Linked DNA regions of Homo sapiens: regions 2 and 3 are each linked to region 1. Evidence: promoter capture Hi-C in 16 types of primary human blood cells and fetal thymus (Javierre and others, 2016). All regions are on one chromosome and are shown on one strand. Each heading gives the region's core, a stretch centred on a gene start or on the middle of the fragment in contact. The rest is flanking DNA. Distances are from core to core; before and after follow the strand shown. Region 1 holds the start of APOO (apolipoprotein O). Region 2 overlaps ZFX (zinc finger protein X-linked). Region 3 overlaps ZFX (zinc finger protein X-linked).

The links. The method cuts DNA at HindIII sites, captures the fragments that hold promoters and counts their contacts. A CHiCAGO score of 5 or more calls a contact.
Region 2: a fragment that was not itself captured here is called in contact with the fragment with the promoter of APOO in region 1 in 6 of 17 cell types (activated CD4 T cells, total CD8 T cells, naive CD8 T cells and 3 more); the score reaches 6.8 in activated CD4 T cells.
Region 3: a fragment that was not itself captured here is called in contact with the fragment with the promoter of APOO in region 1 in 2 of 17 cell types (total CD4 T cells and activated CD4 T cells); the score reaches 6.8 in total CD4 T cells.

What each region holds. Positions count from the first base shown.
Region 1 is chrX:23,906,185-23,909,336 of GRCh38, reverse strand. It overlaps APOO (apolipoprotein O), which reads left to right and starts at 1,399. Exons shown (of 9, transcript NM_024122.5): 1 at 1,399-1,643. The coding sequence starts at 1,635. It overlaps CXorf58 (chromosome X open reading frame 58), which reads right to left and starts at 1,331. Exons shown (of 9, transcript NM_152761.3): 1 at 1,008-1,331. RefSeq lists an enhancer at 1,440-1,649 and a silencer at 1,830-1,999. The HindIII fragment of the contact is 4,107 bases long and covers 1,169-3,152 here.
Region 2 is chrX:24,163,492-24,166,799 of GRCh38, reverse strand. The region is part of intron 3 of ZFX (zinc finger protein X-linked); the gene reads right to left. Among named protein-coding and RNA genes, the nearest start is that of ZFX, 15 kb to the right of the region's middle. The HindIII fragment of the contact is 2,089 bases long and covers 627-2,715 here.
Region 3 is chrX:24,201,997-24,204,870 of GRCh38, reverse strand. The region is part of intron 5 of ZFX (zinc finger protein X-linked); the gene reads right to left. Among named protein-coding and RNA genes, the nearest start is that of ZFX, 54 kb to the right of the region's middle. The HindIII fragment of the contact is 1,231 bases long and covers 926-2,156 here.

The DNA.
Region 1 (3,152 bases), core at 150-2,649:
TACTACTGTGGCTTGTTATCTACACTATAATTGAAAGAAACAAAGTTCAGTTAGAGGTTAGTGAAAATGAAGTTGTCATTTTTTCCCCCATACAAGTTCACATACCCCCTGAATTAAGAACTTCTGCCCTAATTTATCAATATGTTTCACATTTTTATGTATGTGTGACGTTACACTGCTGATGCAGAGAGCCTTCTGAGTCTATTCAGTATTTCTCCTTGGGGATGCCTTGGAATATACAATCCTCTTAAGAAAGAGAAAAGCAGCCCTTAACATCTGGGAGCTAAGCTGGGCTTAACTAACACCAAGGCTGGCAGTCACAGCTGGGCCTTGGTGTTACCACTGCTTCCTAACAACACCCGATCCAGAGCAAAGCTCCTGCTTCCTTGAACTCGCCCCAAAATCACCGAACCAAAGCCCAAATCCTATAATAAATCTAACTCTTTTACTGAAATATGTCACTGTGTTCCTACGTGTGCGTTCTCCTTGCAGCAATGAGAAACCCAATTTCTTCAACTACAGGTGTGCCCCTAGTGGTCTTTGGCTGGAGGGCAGTGGCACGTCACTGTACAAATTCTAAATTTTTCCAGATGCTCGCCTGGATGGGGCTTACACTTTTTATAGGATTAGGGCAGAAATACAGAATGAAATAGGAAATACATCCTCATTATGAGACAGTGCAACAATTGTTTTGGCTAGAACACAGGTTTCAAAGGCAGACTAATGGGTTTGGATCCTAGCTTCCCACTTCCTATGTGGTCTTGTACAAATTACTTCTACGTGCCTCAGTTTCTTCATCTATGTATTGGGAATAATAATCATGCCCACCTACTTCCGTTGTTGGAAAGATTAGATGAATGTGAATAAAGAACTTAGATCAGGGCTGCGCATATCAAAGTGCTGTATCAGTGCTTGTTTACTCTTGTTAATAAGATAATTATTGCCATTATCAGTTACTTCTACAAGTATTAAGGGACAAACATTTGATTTCCAGAGAGGAGGCTTACCGCTTGTTTCTTAACGGGAAAAAATAAGGTCAGAGCCTTTTCCGATTAAAGGACACAGCATATTAGTTTAAATTTAAAACCTGAGAAACCTCAAGTCCTTGGTTAAAACCTTTCGTAAGGTAAATCCAGGCCGCCAACCGGCGGCTTCCGGCTGCGAAGCTTTCGAAGCCGCCGGTGGCCCTCCAAGCGCCCCCTCTCGGCAGCCTCTGCTCACAGAAATCCCAGTACACGCCGCTGGGCGCCCAGTCGCCGCTGCAAAGACAGTTTCCCAGCGCCGCGGCAACGCCAGGCGCCTCCCTCCTCGCGCCTCCGCGTACCGTCCACACAGAGCCGGCGCTTTCTTGCCGCCTAGCAACCGCCGGCGCAGGGGCGGAGCCTCCTGGAGGGCGGGGTTTGCGTTCACCCGCTGCCCGGGCGCGACGCGCTGCGGCTCAGCGACGCGGCTTCTAGAACCGGGTGATTGAACTAAACCTTCGCCGCACCGAGTTTGCAGTACGGCCGTCACCCGCACCGCTGCCTGCTTGCGGTTGGAGAAATCAAGGCCCTACCGGGCCTCCGTAGTCACCTCTCTATAGTGGGCGTGGCCGAGGCCGGGGTGACCCTGCCGGAGCCTCCGCTGCCAGCGACATGTTCAAGGTGAGAGCGTGGAGTCGAGTCACAGCTGTCACCGCCCCCTCCCGGCCGCCCGAGCCCTCCCCGCGCTCTCTTGGGGCCTCTCTGCAGCCAGGCCTGGCTCACCCCGAGGCTTTTCCCGCCACTGGGCCGGCTGCGTCCCGGCCCCGCGGTTCATTCACTGGTCTACTGGGGATGAGCGGCTGCCGGGCGGAGGCGGGAGACCCCCGGGTGGGTGGGGGCGGCCCTTTGGGTTGTGCTTTCGTGAATTAAACACTTTGAAAATTTAAAGTGCCTTCCCCCAAAGTACCCATCCCCTCGGCTAGTACCCTCTTGGGATCGTGGGTAGGGTGAGGCCAGCTCAGGGCACTGTGGGGTTCGCGGCTTTAGTTGCCTGGCAGGGTCAGGTTTCAGAACCTGATGTGTGGATGGGGGAGGGTCATTTTAGGAGAAGCTGTGCAGGGTATGGGGGAGGCTGGGGTGGGATGGCTGGGTGACGAGGGAAGCTGGAGCTTTGCTCCACTCCTCAGGGAACATTATTTAATACGGGCCAGTGGACCCCCTTCCCTGCGTTTTGTGAACTCGTGTCCTTTGGAAAAAAATCGACTTTTACGATGAAGACTTAATTTCGAAAATCTGCACTTTAGCATAAAGCCATTATTCTACTTTTTAAAAAGTAAATTATATGTATTTTGTCATAAAAAATCACAGGCTACCAGAAATTAATCTACAAAATTGAGTCTTCAAGAAGCATAGTACCCATAAAATAGTGCTAATGAAATCTCAGAATTGTACTATTCATTTAAAAGTTTTATTGAGCTCTGCAATGTGCTTTGGGTACGTTAATAAAGGCTGTAAAATCAGAACATGCATTCTGCCTTCTAGTCCTGGCATTGCCACTTTCTAGCTGTGTGACCTTGGGCAAGTCACTGTGCCTATCTTCCTTTGGTGAAGTTGGGGTAATAACATCTACCTCATAGGGTTGTTATAAGGAGTAAGTTGGTATGTGTAAAGCACTTGGAAAAGGCCTAGTATTTGCTCTTACTCTGTTTTCAGGCAGCTCACAGTTTAGTCAGGAAGACAGATCCTATAATCAACATTCATTTGATAAATTTGTGTGTTAAACACCTGTTATGTGCTAGGAGCTCAGCTCCATTTCAGGGTTACAACAAGGAAAGATATGCTGTGGCCAGTTTAACTATATGTGTACCAACAGTGTAGTAAAGTAGTAAAAAGGAGAGCAGGATCCACTTGGCTTAACCAGGGGTTCCTAACCTGGGGCCCTCAGCTCCTCAAAGGATCTGCACATAGATTTCAGAGGATCCCTGAACTTTGATGGGGAAAAAACATAACTATTTTTAGCAATCTCCAATTGGAATTGAGCACTTCCTTTAGTTACGCATATGGGTAATGTCTCAGTTATCTATTGTTGGGTAACAAATCACTGCAAACCAGTGCCTTAAAACAAGAATTGTTTCTCAAAATCTGGGTTGGCTGGGCAGTTCTGCTGGTGACTTGACTGAAAGTTGGCTT
Region 2 (3,308 bases), core at 422-2,921, 260 kb before region 1:
ACCACTGAGGTTTTCTTGTTTCTCTGGATTTGTTTTTATATTCTTTATGTGATTTTAGAAGGAAGAAAAAATAAGTGTGTGTGTTCTCTAGTCTATGTTGAATTTGAAGTCATTATGCATTTTTATGTGCCAAATAAAACAGCATGGAAATATGTAAATATAAAAAAAGCAAAAGAACCTATGAGACAGTAATAAAAAAAATCAATAGTAGTGGAAGGTTACAACAACTATCAACACTTAACAGATCAACTAGTCTAAAAGGAAAAGAGAAAATGTATATAATCGATATTAATCTAATAACTGTAATTCAAGTTCCATTCTCTAAGAAAAGAATATTTTATTTTCAAATAGCCCTGCCTACTCCACGTCAAGAAGAGGAAAAGAAAATATCTGCTGTTGTAAATAGAGCCCCATCCTTCCTTGCCCTGTCCCATCTGGAACTTTTGTAGGCTTTGCTCAAATAGTCAAGGCCAAGTTTTTGTATTAGTTTTTCCATAAAACCACGCTGAGCCAATCAGTAATTTCAAGGTTTTGTTTGTTTAAAATCTAAGAGTCCAAACTTTCACAATCTATTAAAACTTGGCTGTAAAATGACAAACCTTCTTAAAGCCTATTTTCTCAAAGCTTCTATTCCTGCTCAGATTAAGAGTTGACACAATACTCTCTGAACCTACTTGTACCAATGAGCTACAAACACTAGTTTTAAATGCTTTTGTTTTTAAGGCTTAGCTTGATGTGAGGAAATGCACACATTCTAACTAGTTTTCAGATATTTAAAGCAGTACAGCCTCCTTAATAAAGTACTGCCATTTAATGCATTCAATAATTTAGCAATATCCATGTTCATTCCATAACATTCTACCATATATCATAATGGAATGAGTAAAACAACTCAACTCTTTGGATCACTCTTTTATTTCATAGTGAAAAACTTTAAAATAGCTTATTAGTTTTTGCTGAAATTCTGAAAAGAAATTCTATTCACGTTTCCTCTACTGAAGTATTCTACCTTTAGTTGCAGACTTAGTTCGAGCAGTGTGAGAAACACTTGATGTAATCAAAGGATGAAGACAGGATTCTGACATGGTATCAAGTGGAGATTTAGACTACATTGTACATGGAATAAATGAAATAAAACCATCCTAGGTAAAATTTTTAAAAGGTTAATTTCTGTCAAATGCAGTACATGATGAAGAAAGGTTTAAGTATCAGAAACTGTTTTCTTATACATTTCCTTTTTCTTGCACCTGCTACCTTTCCCAAAATTGGGCATTTAATTTATCTCTGAACTAGTCATTAACATAGTTGTTAACTTAGTAAGTTTTCTTATCAAACCCCTTCTCAATGAGCAATATGTCTCCTTGTATTAGAAAATCTTTCTGGCCGGGCGTGGTGGCTCACGCCTATAATCCCAGCACTTTGGGAGGCCGAGGCTGGCGGATCACAAGGTCAGGAGATCGAGAACATCCTGGCCAAGATAGTGAAACCCTGTCTCTACTACAATACAAAAAATTAGCCAGGCGTGGTGGCACGTGCCTGTAGTCCCAGCTACTCAGGAGGCTGAGGCAGGGGAACTGCTTGAACTCAGGAGGCAAAGGTTGCAGTGAGCCAAATTCATGCCACTGCACTCCAGCCTGGTGATAGAGCGAGACTCCGTCTCAAAAAAAAGAAAGAAAAGAAAATATTTTTCTGATACTGTATTAGGATTTGGGGTTTTTTTAAATTAGTGCAGTCTCGCTTTCATGTTACTTTATTCAAGCTAATTATGTGCTTTCCTTCATTTTCTGGTAACTAGTTGTAAAAATCATGCCTTGCAGGTTTACAGTTTTCAAAACACTCTAAATTTTTTTTTTTTTTTTCAGACGGAGTTTCACTCTTGTTGCCCAGGCTGGAGTGCAACATCGCCATCTCAGCTCACTACAATCTCTGCCTCCCAGGTTCAAGCAATTCTCCTACCTCAGCCTCCCAAAAGTAGCTGGCATTTACAGGCATGCACCACCACGCCTGGCTAATTTTTTGTATTTTTTACTAGTAGAGACAGGGTTTCACCACGTTGGCCAGGCTGGTTTCGAACTCCTGACCTCAGGTGATCCACCCGCCTCAGCCTCCCAAAGTGCTGGGATTACAGGTGTGAGGCACCGTGCCCAGCCCTAAATATTCTTAAACTATGATCTTTCTTAACATAATTGTCTTGCCAACTCCCTTGTCACTGATCACCAACGCTGTAATTTGACCCATATTGACCATACTATATCTCACCTACATGAATGCATACTTACTATTATTGCTTTTCCTAAATACATTACTTTCGGCCTATGAGGTTCTGTAAACTCAGTGTTAACACTTACAGTATTCTCTGTATACCTTAAGCACTGGCAAGAATATAACACTGGGCCTTTCAACAACTAGAACAAATATTTTAAATGGACAGTTCCAGAATTGTGGGGTATTTTTACATTGATCTTTTGCTAATGCAATCAGCAATGTGTTTTGCACATGGAATTTAATAAATCCTTTAATCATTAAAAAAATAATAAAAGAAAAGAACAAGCTGGGCAATGCAGGGGCAGGTTTGAAATACGCCTGCTTCTCAAAAGACCAACAACAGGCATGCTCCAGGTTGAGTATCAGCAACCATTAATTTCATGACCATTCTCTGGAGCAAAGCTAGGGAGCCAGCTAATTTTTACCCCAAAAAAATCTCCAAACCAAGCTTTTTCCAGGGGGTTGGGAAGACAATAAAATACAAGATAATAATCTAAAAGAGGGGAAGAAACTGGGAGAAAGCACAAACATATACAATTTGAAATAAGAAAAAAAAAAAACAGAAAAAAAGAAAACAACTTGTATGAAAATGGTCTAGAATTCTACACTAGCACAGTGACGGAAAATGTAAATTACCAGCATTAACTCAATAAAAGAAAACCCGATCGTAATGAATTTTTTTTTTTTTTTTTTTCTTTTTTTTAAAAGAGGGGGCCTGGGCACAGTGGCTCACACCCGTAATCCCAGCGCTTTGGGAAGCCAAGGCAGGAGATCACTTGCAGCAAGGAGTTCAAGACCAGCCTGGACAAAATAGCTAGACTCCATCTTGACAAAATAATTTTAAAAATTAGCTAGGCGGCCGGGCATGGTGACTAATGCCTGTAATCCCAGCACTTTGGAAGGCTGAGGTGGGTGGATCACCTGAGGTCAGGAGTTCGAGACCAGCCTGGCCAACATGGTGAAACCCCATCTCTACCAAAAATACAAAACTTAGCTGGGCGTGGTTGCTCGCGCCTGTAGTCCCAGCTACTCAGGAGGCTGAG
Region 3 (2,874 bases), core at 292-2,791, 300 kb before region 1:
GATTATGGTAAGTACTACTTAATACCTACAACAACCCTGTGAGGCAGGTGGTACAATATTCTCTACATTTCACAGCAAAGCAAACTGAAGTTTAGAGAGGTTGAGTAACTTATCTGGAGTCACGCAATTCAGATCTCAAGCTACGTTAGTCCCAATCAGGGCTCGTCAACTTCTGGAATATGGAGCATGGGGTTTAAATTGGTAGAGGCAACTGTGATTTTTGAAAAATCAGAAAATAGTGTAACTATCTAAACATGCTTTCTTTTCGTGAAAAACAAATGAATGTGCTCATGACTCAGGCAGGCATAATCAGTATTGCAACCAAGGCTAGGTGGTGGTGGTTCTGACCACTATAACTTTTAAAATTCACAGTCATCCCTTGTGTAATTTACACCAGTTATACCAAGACAGAACTCAGATTCTGACGTCTTTGAAATGATACTTCTGCAAAGTTCTGTCGTGATCTCCATCAGATCCAAAAACTGTGTTTACCTAATCAAAATTCTTACACAGAACATCAAGATGAATCTAATATCTCAAAAGCCAACATTAAAAAGCAAAAATACAGTGACAATTTGTCAACTTAACTTCTGACTTACTGAGAATCAAGACCATCCACATCCCAAATTACTTGCAAAGAAAAGCTTGAAAATGGCAGCCCCAAACCTTTGTCATTTACAAACATAAAAATTATAAAATTTAATCAGCTTGTTTCAAATGCAAAGTTCAAGATTCCCAAACTCTGGGTCACTGAAAGCAGTTGTTGTTTTGGTCTATTTTTGATATCACTAATCAACAAACTACATTTTAATATACCTTCAGTTTCAAAACCAAACAAGTCACTTAAAAATGCACTTGTTGATAAATTATACTTTTTCCTACATAAATTGAAATGAAGGTCATTTATGAGAAAAAAGCAAAAGCTTATTTATGTATATTGTAAGATGACATTAATGTTGAACCCTCTAATGCAATCTTTAATAAACTGATACAGAAAATGAGAGGATGAGAGTCTGAAATGACTGGCAAATATCACTGTGCACTGATCGCTGCCATGGGAACAAAGGAAAGATACCTCACTCAGGTGAAGAGAAAGAGAGGGGACAAATGAAGGGAGACACAAAACGGCGTGATGGTAAGGGAATGCATGGTTCAATATTGCTGGAATGTGAGGGTAAAGGGTGGCACAGGACATGGCAGGAAATGCAGCCGACTGCTAAGCTGAAGCCAGGTCATGAAGGGCCTCATGCACAGGCAGAAGGGCTCCGACTTTATCCTTGCAGGCCAAGGGTTTCTCAATCTGGTCAGGTGTCAAAATCTCTTAGGGAATTTAAAAACAAAGCATCCAGTCCAGCAGCTCTACAGAATTAGAATCTGCAGCGCTGGGACCCGCTATATAGAGACAGATTTAGGGGCGCCCTGCCTCTGGGACTCTGATGAGAGGCTGGAGAACATCTGCTGCAGGACTGGGAGACTTTCACACGGAGCAGTGACTAAGTCAGGTGCCCGTTTTTGCTGGCCTTGGAAAGGTAGATCCAATGAGATCAAAGCATGGAGCTGACCTGAGTCTACTGCAGTAATGCAGGTGATAGATGACGAGGCCTTGAATCAGGACGGAGGTAGTACAACTGGCGGAGTGGGCTGGATTTGAGGCCTATCTTGGGACTGAAATGAGTAGAACTTGGTGTCTGACTGAAAACCCAACATGACGAAGAAGCCAAGGATAACTGGGTTTAAATTTAGGTGACTGAGTGACTGGGGTAAGAAATGTGAGAGAAATGAGGAAAAGGATCTCTCTTCCTGCATGTTTGATTAACTTAAGGTCCTAAGAATAACGTCCTGAAAAGCCCTAAGAACCAGTGATTGTCACTATTGCTTTGTGCTCACGGCACCCTTTGCTTGCTTCTCTTGGAATATGTGATTCACTGTGTGGCCACTGTCTGGTTTTTCTCCCCGTCTTTCCCATTGACACAGCAGAACCTGTATTTTCATTACTCAGTCTTTTAAGACCCAGTCTGGTGATGGTAGATGATCAGAATATTGATGAATCAACGATTCACTGAATGAATGAGATGTGAAGCCAGCTGCTTAATATTCAAGTCTGAAATTGGAAGGCTGACACACTTTGGGGAGCCCTCAACTGTGTTAACTAAGCTTTGCCATCATGCAGTGAGAATCTGCAGTGTGAGGACAGAGTCCTGGGGAATGCCACAGTTGAAGGGAGGGGCAAGAGTAGTTCATAAACCAGAGAAGGGAAAGCTGGAGAGGGCAGTAGAAGGGCATGAAGGAAGCTAGGGAGTTAAAAGATGCAGGAACCCTAGTAAGGCCCATGGCAATAATGCAGCACCACACAAGAAGGAACGTGGAGGAGGAATGTCCACCGTAGTAGCATGAGGTCGCTGATGTTCTTGGTTAAAATCAGTGGAGTGAAGGCTGTAGGGGGTCAGACTAGAGTGGGCTGAGGAGTCAATGGAACATGTGAATTTCTTCAAGTATGTAAAAAGGCAAACAAAAGGACAATAACTAGAATGGGTTGCAGAGTCAAGGACTTTTCCGTTTAGTATTAATAGATAAAAATACTCAAGCATGCTCAGTCTGTGGGAGAAAACGGAATAGAAAGTGAGAGACTGAAGCCAGAGCACATGATGAAATTTTGGGATCCAGATCTCAGAGGAAAAGGGATAAATGAAACTAGGAGCAAAGATGAAGGAATTTTCCTTAAATAGAAGAGAAACATGCTATCCTTCTGAGACTTGAATGAGAATGTAGCTATGCTGGGTTTAGGGAAGCAGGGAAGGTGATAATGCAGAAAGTTGTAGTTCATGGCTGGTGGCTTCAATCATAGGTATGAAACAGGAGGCAAGAACTTGGATA